2 separate regions of the Homo sapiens genome follow, and region 1 is linked to region 2. Evidence: promoter capture Hi-C in human tissues and cell types (Jung and others, 2019). All regions are on one chromosome and are shown on one strand. Each heading gives the region's core, a stretch centred on a gene start or on the middle of the fragment in contact. The rest is flanking DNA. Distances are from core to core; before and after follow the strand shown. Region 1 has its middle 5.3 kb from the start of OR7G3. Region 2 holds the start of ZNF699 (zinc finger protein 699).

Region 1 (5,834 bases), core at 2,394-4,893, 190 kb before region 2:
GTCTCTGCCTCCCTAGCGGCTCAATTGCCAAAGCTCCTCATTAGCCAAGGAATTTGTGTTGGCACTGTAATCCCAGGGTGCTTAAATCCTTGCAGAACAAGGGAGAAATTCAGGATGGCTGCTGTCCTGACCCTAGAGGCCAAGTGTACATCATCCACTTTTCTTTTTTTCTTTCTTTTTTTTTTTTTTTGAGATGGAGTCTTGCTCTTTCACCCAGCCTGGAGTGCAGTGGCGCAATCTCGGCTCACTGCAACCTCTGCCTCCTGGGTTCAAGCGATTCTCCTGCCTCAGCCTCCCAAGTAGCTGGGATTACAGGCGCCTGCCACCACTCCCAGCTAATTTTTGTATTTTTAGTAGAGATGGGATTTCACCATGTTTGTTAGGCTGGTCTGGAACTCCTGACCTCAGGGGATCCACCCACCTCTGCCTCCCAAAGTGTTGGGATTATAGGCATGAGCCACCATGCCCAGTCTATTTTATTTTTTTAATTTTTATTTTAATTCAGGGGCACATATGCAAGTTTGTACATAGGCAAACTTGTGTCATGGGAGTTTGTTGTACCAATTATTTCATTACCCAGGTATTGAGCCTGGTACCCATTAGTTATTTTTCCTGATCCCTGCCTCCTCCAGCCCTTCACCCTTCAATAGGCCACAGTGTATGTTTTTCCCCTCTATGTGTCCATATGTTCTCATCATTTAGCTCCCACTTATAAGTGAGAACACGTGGTCTTTGGTTTTCTGTTCCTACACTAGTTTGCTAAGGATAATGGCATCCAGCTCCATCCATTTTCCTGCAAAGAACATGATCTCATTCTTTTTTATGGCTGCATAGTATTCTATGGTGTGTATGTACCACATTTTCTTTATCCATTCTATCAGTGATGGGCATTTAGATTGATTCCATGTCTTTGCTATTGTGAATAGTGCTGCAATGAACATAATGTGTGCTTGTGTCTTTATAGTACAATGATTCATATTCCTTTGGGTACATACCCAGTAATGGGATTGCTGGGTCTAATGGTATTCTGTCTTTAGGTCTCTGAGGAATTCCCACACTGCCTTCCACAATGGTTGAACTAATTTACACTCCCACTGACAGTGTATAAGTGTTCCTTTTTCTCCACAGCCTTGCCAGCATCTGTTATTTTTTGGCTTTTTAGTAATAGCCATTCTGATTGATGTGAGATGATATCTCACTGTGGTTTTGATTTGCATTTCCCTAATGATCAGTGATATTGAGCTTTTTTTTATATGATTGTTGGCCGCCTATATGTCTTCTTTTGAAAAATGTCTGTTCATGTTCTTTGCTCACTTTTTAAATGGTTTTTTTTTCTTGTAAATTGGTTTAAGTTCCTTAAAGATGCTGGATATTAGACCTTCATCAGATGGATAGATTGCAAAAATTTTCTCCCATTCTGTAGGTTGTTTGTTCACTGTGATGATAGTTTCTTTCGCTGTTTAGAAGCTCTCTAGTTTAATTAGATCCCATTTGCCAATTTTTGCTTTTGTTGCAGTTGCTTTTGGTGTCTTCATCATGAAATCTTTGCTCGTGCCTATGTTCTAAATGGTATTACCTAGGTTGTCTTCTGGGGTATTTATAGTTTTGGGTTTTACATTTAAGTCTTTAATCTGTCTTAAGTTAATTTTTGTATATAATTTAAGGAAGGGGTACAGTTTCAATCTTCTGCATATGGCTAGCCAGTTATCCCAGCACCATTGATTGAGTAGGGAATCCTTTTCCCATTGCTTGTTTTTGTCAGGTTTGTCAAAGATCAGATAGTTGAAGGTGTGCGGTCTTATTTCTGGGTTCTCTATTCCGTTCCATTGGTCTATTTGTCTGTTCTTGTACAAGAACCATGCTGTTTTGATTACTGTAGCCCTGTAGTGTAGTTTGGAGTCAGATAGTGTGATGCCTCCAGCTTTGTTCCTTTTGCATAGGGTTATCTTGGCTATTCAGGATTTTTAAAAAACAGTTATTTCTAGAAATCATTTTAAAAGAGAGTAAAATCTTTTTCTGGAGGTGTGTAAGCTACTTCAGTTGCTTCTTGGATGTGAGCCTTTGGTTGTAGCTATTTTTTGATAAATTTTCTCTGTTTTTTTCTTGGTTGTTACTGGCACTACTATTACATGAATATTTATGATTATGTCACACTAAAATATGTCTTTGAACCAGAAATTAATAAAAGTTTTCTCATCTTATTGCTTTATCACATTGAAAGTCACAAAAATTAGTTTTATTTCTATTTCTGGTTCTCCAGCCTGGGCAACACAGCAAGATTGTGTCTCTAAAACCAAAATAAAGAAAAAATTGAAATGTTCAGAGACTCAGAAAGGGAAAAGTCATGAGGCAAGTGTTCAGATACCACCTTGGGGAAAGTTTGCTGACTCTGTGGAAAGTGAGCAGGAAATGAAGTAGCGTTAAGGGTAGAATGTGTTGTCCCAGGGTTGATAAGAAATGTGGTGGTGGTCGGCCTGGTGACTCAGGCCTGTAATCCCAGCACGTTGGGAGGCCGAGGCGGGAGAATCTCTTGATCCCAGGAGTTCGAGATCACCCTGGCCAACATGGCGAAACCCCGTCTCTACTAAAAATAGAAAAAAATTAGCTGGGCGTGGTGATGCTTGCCTGTAATCCTTGTTACTCCGGAGACTGAAGCATGAGAATTGCTTGAACCTAGGAGGCGGAGGCTACAGTGAGCCGAGACTGCACCACTGCACTCCAGCCTGGGTGACAGAACAGACTCTGTCTCAAAAAAAAAAAAAAAAGAAAGAAAGAAAAAGAAAAAGAAAAAGAGAAAAACTGAGCTTGGAGAATGGAACTAATTTTTTTTTATTATTTATTTTTAATTTTTATTTATTTATTTATTTATTTTGAGACGGAGTCTCGCTCTGTCGCCCAGGCTGGAGTGCAGTGCGGCATCTCAGGTCACTGCAAGCTCCGCCTCCTGGGTTCACGCCATTCACCCGCTTCAGCCTCCCAAGTAGCTGGGACTACGGGTGCCCGCCACCACGCCCGGCTAATTTTTTGTATTCTTATTCGAGACGGGGTTTCACCGTGTTAGCCAGGATGGTCTCGATCTCCTGACCTCGTGATCCTCCCGCCTCGGCCTCCCAAAGTGCTGGGATTACAGACGTGAGCCACCGCGCCCGGCCGTGGAACTCGTTTTCGTACAATCACAGAGCTACACACAAAGAACAAGTGATGTTTCAACCCCAAGTTAAAATGTACTTACCCACTATGTTATCTAATCATTTTAGAAAACTCAGTGATAGATCAGTCAGGCATTCTGGCTCACCAGTATTTCTGTGTCTTTGACCCACTTTGAATCCCAAGTCCAAAGTGGACAACATAATCAGGAAGAGAAGTTATCCTACCAATGAGTTTCCCCGAGGCTCTCTTCATATCTCTGTTCCTCAGGCTGTAGATAAAGGGGTTCATAATAGGTGTGACCACTGTGTACATCACTGAAGCCACCGCAGCCCTCCTTGAAGAGTCAGAAACGGCAGAGCTAATGTACACCCCCCAACCCGCCCTGTAGAATCGGGAAACAAATGGGAGGTGAGACTCACAGCTGAAAAAAGCTTTATTACTTGCTGACGGCATTCTCAAAACAGACAAGGCTATTTGAGAATAAGAAAACATGACCCCAGAGAGAAGAATATCACCAAATATGCAAGTTGCAAAATAGACCAGAAAGTTATTTTTATTTATTTATTTTTATTGTTTTTTTTTTTTTTTTTTTGAGTCGGAGTCTCCCTCTGTCACCCAAGCTGGAGTGCAGTGGCATGATCTCGGCTCACTGCAACCTCCGCCTCCCAGGTTCAAGTGATTCTCCTGCCTCAGCCTCCTGAGTAGCTGGGACTACAAGCAAGCGTCACCACACCCGGATAATTTTTGTATTTTTAGTAGAGACAGTGTTTCACCATGTTGGGCAGGCTGGTCTTGAACTCCTAACCTCGTGATCCACCCGCCTCGGCCTCCCAAAGTGCTGGGATTACAGGCATCAGCCACCGTGCCTGACTGCAGTAGCCATTATTTTATTCTGATTTTATGAGATCAGCTCTTTTGGATTCTACACATGGTTGAGATCATGCAGTATTTGTCTTTCTGTACCTGGCTTATTTCACTTAGCATAATGTTCTCCAGGTTCCTCCATGTTGTGGCGAATGACAGAATTTCCTTCTTTTTAAAGGGTGCATAGTACTCTATCATATACCACATTTTCTTTTTCTTTTCCAGACAAAGTCTCACTCTGTTGCCCAGGCTAGAGTGCAGTGGTGCGATCTCGGCTCACTGCAACCTCCGCCTCCTGGGTTCAAGTGATTCTCCTGCCTCAGCCTCCTGAGTAGCTGGGATTACAGGCATACGTCATCATGCCTGGCTAATTTTTGTATTTTTAGTGGAGACACGGTTTCACCATGTTGGCCAGGCTAGTCTTGAACTCCTGACCTCAAGTAATCTACCTACCTCAGGCTCCCAAAGTGCTGGGATTACAGGCGTGAGCCACCGTGCCTGCCATACCACATTTTCTTTATCCACTTATATGTTGATGGACATTCAGGTTGATTACATTTCCTGGCTATTGTGACTAATACTGCAATGAACATGAGAGTGCAGATATCTCTTCAGCATATTGATTTCAATTCCTTTGAAATTCAACAGCACAAACATAAATCAATATAACTATAGATAGTCAACCTAAATAACAGAAAGAGGCTATCTAAAAGAAAATGATGTTTATTGCCAAAGAAAGCATTGCAATAGCGATACGCGTGCCATCATAAACTATGTATGCATTCAAGGAGGTAAAGGAAGACAAAGTTTTTTAATGGAAAAATGAGGAAGGTTACATAATTGTTTTGAAATAATTATCCTTCACAGTAATAACTAATAACAAGGGTGATGCCAGTCTGAAGCTGGACAGGCAGTTGCTGGGCAGATGTACTTGCAGAAATATTTTTTGTGTAAGGTTGCAACAGCCTTTTGTGCAAGGTTGTGGTTTTTGTCGTCTCGTGATAGTTTTTGTCGTCTCGTGATAGTTTTTGTAGTCTTGTGATAGTTTTTGTTATTAGGCATGCAAGTGAAATAAATCTCTTCATGGCCTTCCCTAGCTTTACTTGTCAGGATGTTTTTGTTTTTTTCATTTTTGTTTGTTTGTTTGTTTTTCATGAGATGGAGTCTTGCTCTGTCGCCCAGGCTGGAATGCAGTGGTGCGATCTTGGCTCACTGCAACCTCCGCCTCCCAGGTTCAAGCGATTCTCATGCCTCAGCCTCCTGAGTAGCTGGGATTACAGATATGCGCCACAACGTCTGGCTAATTTTTGTATTTTTCATAGAGATGGGGTTTCACCATGTTGGCCAGGCTGGTCTCGAACTCCTGACCTTGTGATCCGCCCACTTCAGCCTATCAAAGTGCAGACTTTTTTGATAGCCGCTACACCCAGCCTTTTTTTTTTTTAATAAGTGACTCCATTTTGATTCTGACAATTTTAACAATATATATACCAAGTACAGTCAGCCTTCCATATCTGCCAGTACCACATTCATGGACTCAACCAACTGTGGATCAAAAATATTAAAAATATTAAAGAAAATTTTAAAAATATTAAATAAGAATATTACAAAAATACAATATTAAGTAATACAACTATTTACATAGGATTAACATTATGCTAGGTAATATAAGTAATCTAGAAATGATTTAAAGTATAGGCGACCTGGGCACAGTGGCTCACACTGCTTAATCCCAGCACTTTGGAAGGCTGAGGCAGAAGGATTGTTTGAGGCCAGGAGTTTGAGGCTGCAGTGAGTTATAATCACACCACTGTAGTTCA
Region 2 (5,975 bases), core at 2,169-4,668:
AGCCCTGATGTGGTATCTGCAGTGCTGTTTCACAAATTTCAAACAACGACATGTTAACAGTTACTTCCACTGCAGTGGAACAAGTAGCATTTTAAAAAGCCAATAAAAAACTGTAACATTCTTTGCTGTATTAGTAACAATATATGCCATCTGGACAACCCTGATGTGAGAATGACTTTGCAAAGAAATGGCCACATTTTAGAATATTTCTCACAGAAGCTCTGCAAATCAAATATTATTACAACCAGTTTAGAATTATCTTAGAATGAGTCAATTAACCACATCTTCAATATTACCCAATTAGACAGCTGCTGAGGCAGGGTATGAATGCAGGCCTATTTGTCTTCAAAACCCAAACACCCAGTGAGTACATTTTTGAACACATACCTTAAATTTTAATTGTTTTTAAGCCCCTTATTCCCTAGTTTTACCAGGATTTAGCCTAGAACCCTATTGGGCACTACAGAGAGTGGACAAATGAAGCATTCTAATCAAATATGCTGTGCGTGGTAGCTCATGCTTGTAATCCCAGCACTTTGGGAGACCAAGGTCGGGGGAATCACATGAGGTCAGGAGTTCAAGACCAGCCTGGCCAAAATGGCGAAACCCTGTCTCTACTAAAACTACAAAAATCAGCCGGGCATGGTGGCGCACAGCTGTAGTCCCAGCTACTCAGGAGGCTGAGGCAGGAGAATTGTGTGAACTCAGGAGGCAGAGGTTGCAGTAAGCCGAAATCACACCACTGCACTCCAGCCTGGGCAACAGAGCCAGACTCTGTCTCAAAATAAATAAAATAAATAAATAATCAAATATGTTATCTTTGAGCTCCTTTTCCTAAGGCCTATGTCTTGGGCAACGATGCTTCCCTTATAGCCCTTACCTCCTTCGTTTCATGTTTATTTAGGTGACATTTATCCTGACCCTACTACATGAAGTCACAAGGAATAAGGCATAGAAAAATAAAAAAGAAAAATCCTGAAGCAAATGAATGTTATAATATTTTGGGTAAGACATTAAACAAAATACATCAGGTAGAGATACATGCTATATAAAAAATGTAGCACATTATAGGGATAAGGAGACACGTAACATATTTATCTTTAGCAAGTCAGGACAGGTAATGTGGCAGGGTAGAAGCAGAAAATTAAAATAACTATTTCAGATCATGCTGGAATTTCAGAGGGTTTAGTATATCTATTATATATTTATAAGCATTATCAACTCCTAGAGGAAAAAAAATCAGTACTGGCCAGGCACGGTGGCTCACACCTGTAATCCCAGCACTTTGGGAGGCCAAGGTGGGTGGATCACAAGGTCAGGAGTTCAAGACCAGCCTGGCCAAGATGGTGAAACCCACCTCTACTAAAAATACAAAAAAATTAGCTGGGCATGGTGGCAGGTGCCTGTAATCGCCACTACTTGGGAGGCTGAGGCAGAGAATTGTTTGAACCCAGGAGGCAGAGGTTGCAGTGAGCCAAGATCACGCCACTGCACTCCAGCCTGGGAGACACAGCGAGACTCTGTCTCAAAAAAAAAAAAAAAAATCGGTATTAATAGGCTAGACTATTGATATATAAAGTTGAATAAAGACCAGCATAAAAGTTTAGAAAGAAAATAGAAAATAATCTTTTTTAAAACATAGTAAACAAAATCAGAAAAGCTAAAAAAGCATCCTTTGCAAAAAGAAAAACTAATGAAACTGACAAACTCAGCTTTTTAAAAAAATTTTTTAATTTAATTTATTGTTTAAGACAGACTCTTTATGTTCCCAGGTTGATCTCATTTCCTAGGCTCAAGCGATCCATCTGCCTTAGCTTCCCACCAGCTGGGACTACAGATATGCGCCACTGCAGCCAGCAACAGACTCAGCAATTTTAAGAGCAACAGGGCATAAACAACAACAACAAAAAAAAAATGAACAAGAATTAATCATAATTACAGATATCATAAGGAGAATATAGAAAAAATTTAAGGAATAAATATGAAGATGCACAGGTAATTAATGAATTTCTAGAAAGTAGTACAACTTTCAAGCAGTGATCTAAAACCTGATTACACCCAGTAATTAAAGAAAAAAAAATCAGCGGTTTAAAACACGGTCAGGCCGGGTGCAGTGGCTCATGCCTGTAATTCCAGCACTTTGGGAGGCGGAGAGCCCATGAGTTCGAGACCTGCCCGGGCAACAGAGCGAGACTCCTATTTTCTAAAAAGAAATAGGAATAAAGAAAGGAAAAAAACCTACAAACACCTACAGCAAACATCCTATTTAATGGTGAAATGATAGAATAATTCCCTCTGGAATCAGAAACAAGACAGGATGTAAATTACATGCTATTCTGTCGGACATTGTACTGGAGGTCCTGGCAAGTGCAGTAAAGAAATGAAAAGAAATGGAAACTGCAAGGAATAAAAAGGGAAAAGATTGAAACTGACAGATGACCAAATTTTCTGTGTGAAATTTAACCAATCTATAGACAAATGATTCAAATGCATCATTAATGACAAAATGCATCAGTTCACTTTCACTTGAATATAATGTATCAAACTGATGTCCACAGGCAGAATATAATATCCAGAGACCAAATACTATCTTTTTGTTTTTTTGAGACAGTGTCTCGCTCTGTTGCCCAGGCTGGAGTGCAGTGATGCGATCTCAGCTCACTGCAACCTCTGCCTCCCGAGTAGCTGGGAACACAGGAGAGCACCTTTTATTTTACTTTTTTTTTTTTTTTTTTTTTTGGTAGAGACGGGATCTTGCTATGTTGCCCAGGCTGGCCTCAAACTCCTGGGCTCAAGCGATCCGCCCGCCTCGGCCGCCCAAAGTGCTGGGATTACAGGCGTGAACCACCGCGCTTGGCCCAAACACTACCTAATGCATAAAGAGGGGACAGGAGGGGACCGAGCCGAGGCAAATGTCACCCCGTGCTCACCCGACACGCCGCGATCCACAGATCAGCTCACAGAGAACGAGGCTGAAGCGCTTGTCCTTGAGACACGAATGGCAGAGATGCTCTTCCTTTCTGGAAAGAGAGCAAAGGATGCTTTCGGAGGCTGATGAACTACGACATTGGTTCTCCAACTCTCGCCTGCATCAGAATCACCCCGATTTCTGTACCCAGACCAGAGTTCCCGATTCAGTGAGTTTGGGACCAGCCGCGGCCACAGGGGCAGCTGACCCGGGCTCTCTGAGGAGGCGCCGCGGCGGCGGGAGGCCCCGGGCGCGGGGTCCGGACAAGGAGTGGCGGGGAGGCAGCCCTTAGACCGCCGATTCCCAAACCCAGCCCTCGGTCTCCCGCGGACCCGACCCGGGGCAGGCAGGGCGGGGCGGGGCAGGGCAGGACAGGAAGCGGGCGGAGGCAAAAATGTTCCTCAGACGCGGGCGGAGGCGTAGGGTGACAAGGCTGTCGACTCGCGCATGCGCAGAAGCACACTTCTGATTCCTCTTTCGGCGCTGCAAATGGCGTATGGGGCGGGGCCTGGGAAGCGGGACTTGAGGTGAAGGGGGTGGAGCAGGTAGGAGCGGGATGCAAAGGAGCGCCAAGGCTGGTTCCAGCCGCAAGTGGATGAGAAATCCTAGTTTCTTCATGATTTGGAGTAAACAGAGAAGAAACAGAACCCTGAACTGGACTTGCATGACTCGGCCTGAGGGGCGGAACTGGGGCTAGACCTAGGGGCGTGGCCTTTTAAATACTCCAAGGGGCGGGGCTAAAGGTGGAACCAGATTGGGAGCGGGGCTTGGTAGAAATTCCTAGGGGGCGGAGACGAGGGCTGGGCGGGGCTTAAGTGACAAGGCCTAGGGATGGGGCTAAGGCTAGGGCTTCCCATCCAGGTTCTCAGCTACCACGGATACAGGATGCTCATCGATCGGGTTTCTACCTATCCTCCACGTTGCTACAGTCCTGTACACAGGACACATATATTTGCAGCTCTAATAGGAAACAGACTCTCCTTGACACTCACTCAGTCCTTTTGGGCCTTTTAGTTTTCCCTTTCATTGTTGTATTGATAACTTCTCCTGTAGAGGGAAGCCATTGATAATTATTTAAATAGAACCTTTTTCCTGGAAACTTGCTGAATTCTGATAGCTGTCAGTTTATTATTTGAACCATCAAATATAAATATTTTCTCTGCATATTTTCATTGTTTTAATGTGTATAACTCATTTCTTTATGTGAGGCAATGTCTCATTCTATCGCCTAGACTGGAGTGCAGTGGCGCGACCATGGCTCACTGCAGCCTTGACTTCCCCAGCTCAAGTGATGGTCCCATCTCAGCCCCCCAAGTAGCTGAGAATACAGTCGCGTACCACCCCACCCAGCTATTTTCTTTATTTTTTTGTAGAGATGGGATCGCACTATGTTGCTGAAGCTGGTCTCAAACTCCTGAGCTCAAGCTATCCTCTCACCTCAGCCTCCCAGAGTGCTAGGGGTACAGGTGTAAGCCACCACACCCAGAGTCATTTCTTTTTCTTATTGTTTGTTTAGGGCTTCCTCAACTATAAGTCGGAAAGAAATTAAGCATTCTTGTCTTGGTCGGTAATGATTACCAAAGTTCCTCAGTAAGCTGTTTACAACAGGTTGCACCTCTTATCAAGTTAATCTTTTTAAACCAGGTTTATAAAGATATTTTATCAATAATTTTTTATGAACACTATCAAATGTTTATGCAACAATTGAGTTGATAACATAATTTTGCTCCTCTTAGTTTATAATATGATATCCATATAAAATATTTAATTTTAGGCAAGGCGCAGTGGCTCATGCCTGTAATCCCAGCACTTTGGGAGGCCGAGGCCGGTGGATTACCTGAGGTCAGGTGTTCAAGACCAGCCTGGCTACCATGGTGAAACCCCATCTCTACTAAAAATACAAAAAATTAGCTGGGCATGGTGGCGGGTGCCTGTAATCCCAGCTACTCAGGAGGCTGAGGCAAGGAGAATCGCTTGAACCTGGGAGGCAGAGGTTGCAGTGAGCTGAGATCGCGCCATTGCACTCCAGCCTGGGCGACAATAGAAAGACTCCATCTCAAAAATATATATATTCAATTTTATATATCCCCAATGAATCTATACTTTTAGTAAAATGGTTTCTGAGTTTCCTAGTTTGCTTTTAAATGTCTCCCCAAACTCTAAAATATAAAAATACTTCCTAATTTACTTCCAAATTGTACTGCTTTTTAAAACGTATAATTCTTTACTGCTCAGGGAATGTATTTTGGTATAATATGAGGTAGAGATGTGTTATATAAGTGAACCACAGGTGGCCTTTCTGTATTGGTCCCTAGGTTGTTCATTACTTCTTCACTGCGGCTTGAGGTCACCTTCCCAATGCCTGTCCCTGGTGCCCTAGCCAGCTCCCTTTCATCATCTATGTTTTTTAAGTGTAAATCTTTTTCTATTATGAAGCATTATGTTCTCATTGTAGTTTTTTATTTTAAAGGAAAAGTATAAGGAAAAGACAAACAACATTCAGAATCCCAGCAGTGTTTGAATTTTCTGTATTTCCTTTCTGCCTTCTTTGTACGCGTGGGTGGCAAGCCACCCAGGTGCCAAGGCAAGAGACCGAGGGCACAAGCTGTTCCAGTATAATAAAGAAAATATATAGAATAAGAGTAGTTATACTAGAAATAGATTATAGATATGATTGTATATATCATTAATCATTTGTAGCATTACTCTTTATTCCAATATTATAATAATCTTTGTTCTACAATCATAACCTAGGAAAAACCAGGCCATACAGAGATAGGAGCTGAAGGGACATGGTGAGAAGTGACCAGAAGACAAGGGTGAGCCCTCTGTTATGCCTGGACAGAGCCACCAGAGGGCTCCCTGGTCTAGCGGTAATGCCAGCCCCTGGGAAGGAGCCCGTTACCTAGCGGACCTTGGTCTAGCAGTAGCGTCAGTGCCTGGGGAAGGCACCCATTGCTTAGCAGACAGGGAAAGGGAGTCTCCCTTTCCCCGGGGGAGTTAGAGA

What was found. Contacts are between HindIII fragments. The study calls those that stand out against the background at their distance.
Region 1: a fragment that was not itself captured here is called in contact with the fragment with the promoter of ZNF699 in region 2 in 1 of the 25 tissues and cell types used here (H1 embryonic stem cells).

The regions. Positions count from the first base shown.
Region 1 is chr19:9,118,778-9,124,611 of GRCh38, forward strand. It overlaps the pseudogene OR7G15P. Among named protein-coding and RNA genes, the nearest start is that of OR7G3, 5.3 kb to the right of the region's middle. The HindIII fragment of the contact is 3,758 bases long and covers 1,765-5,522 here.
Region 2 is chr19:9,306,420-9,312,394 of GRCh38, forward strand. ZNF699 (zinc finger protein 699) reads right to left here and starts at 3,419. Exons shown (of 6, transcript NM_198535.3): 1 at 2,931-3,419. RefSeq lists silencers at 3,089-3,338, 5,694-5,975 and an enhancer at 3,399-3,518. The HindIII fragment of the contact is 17,114 bases long and covers 1-5,975 here.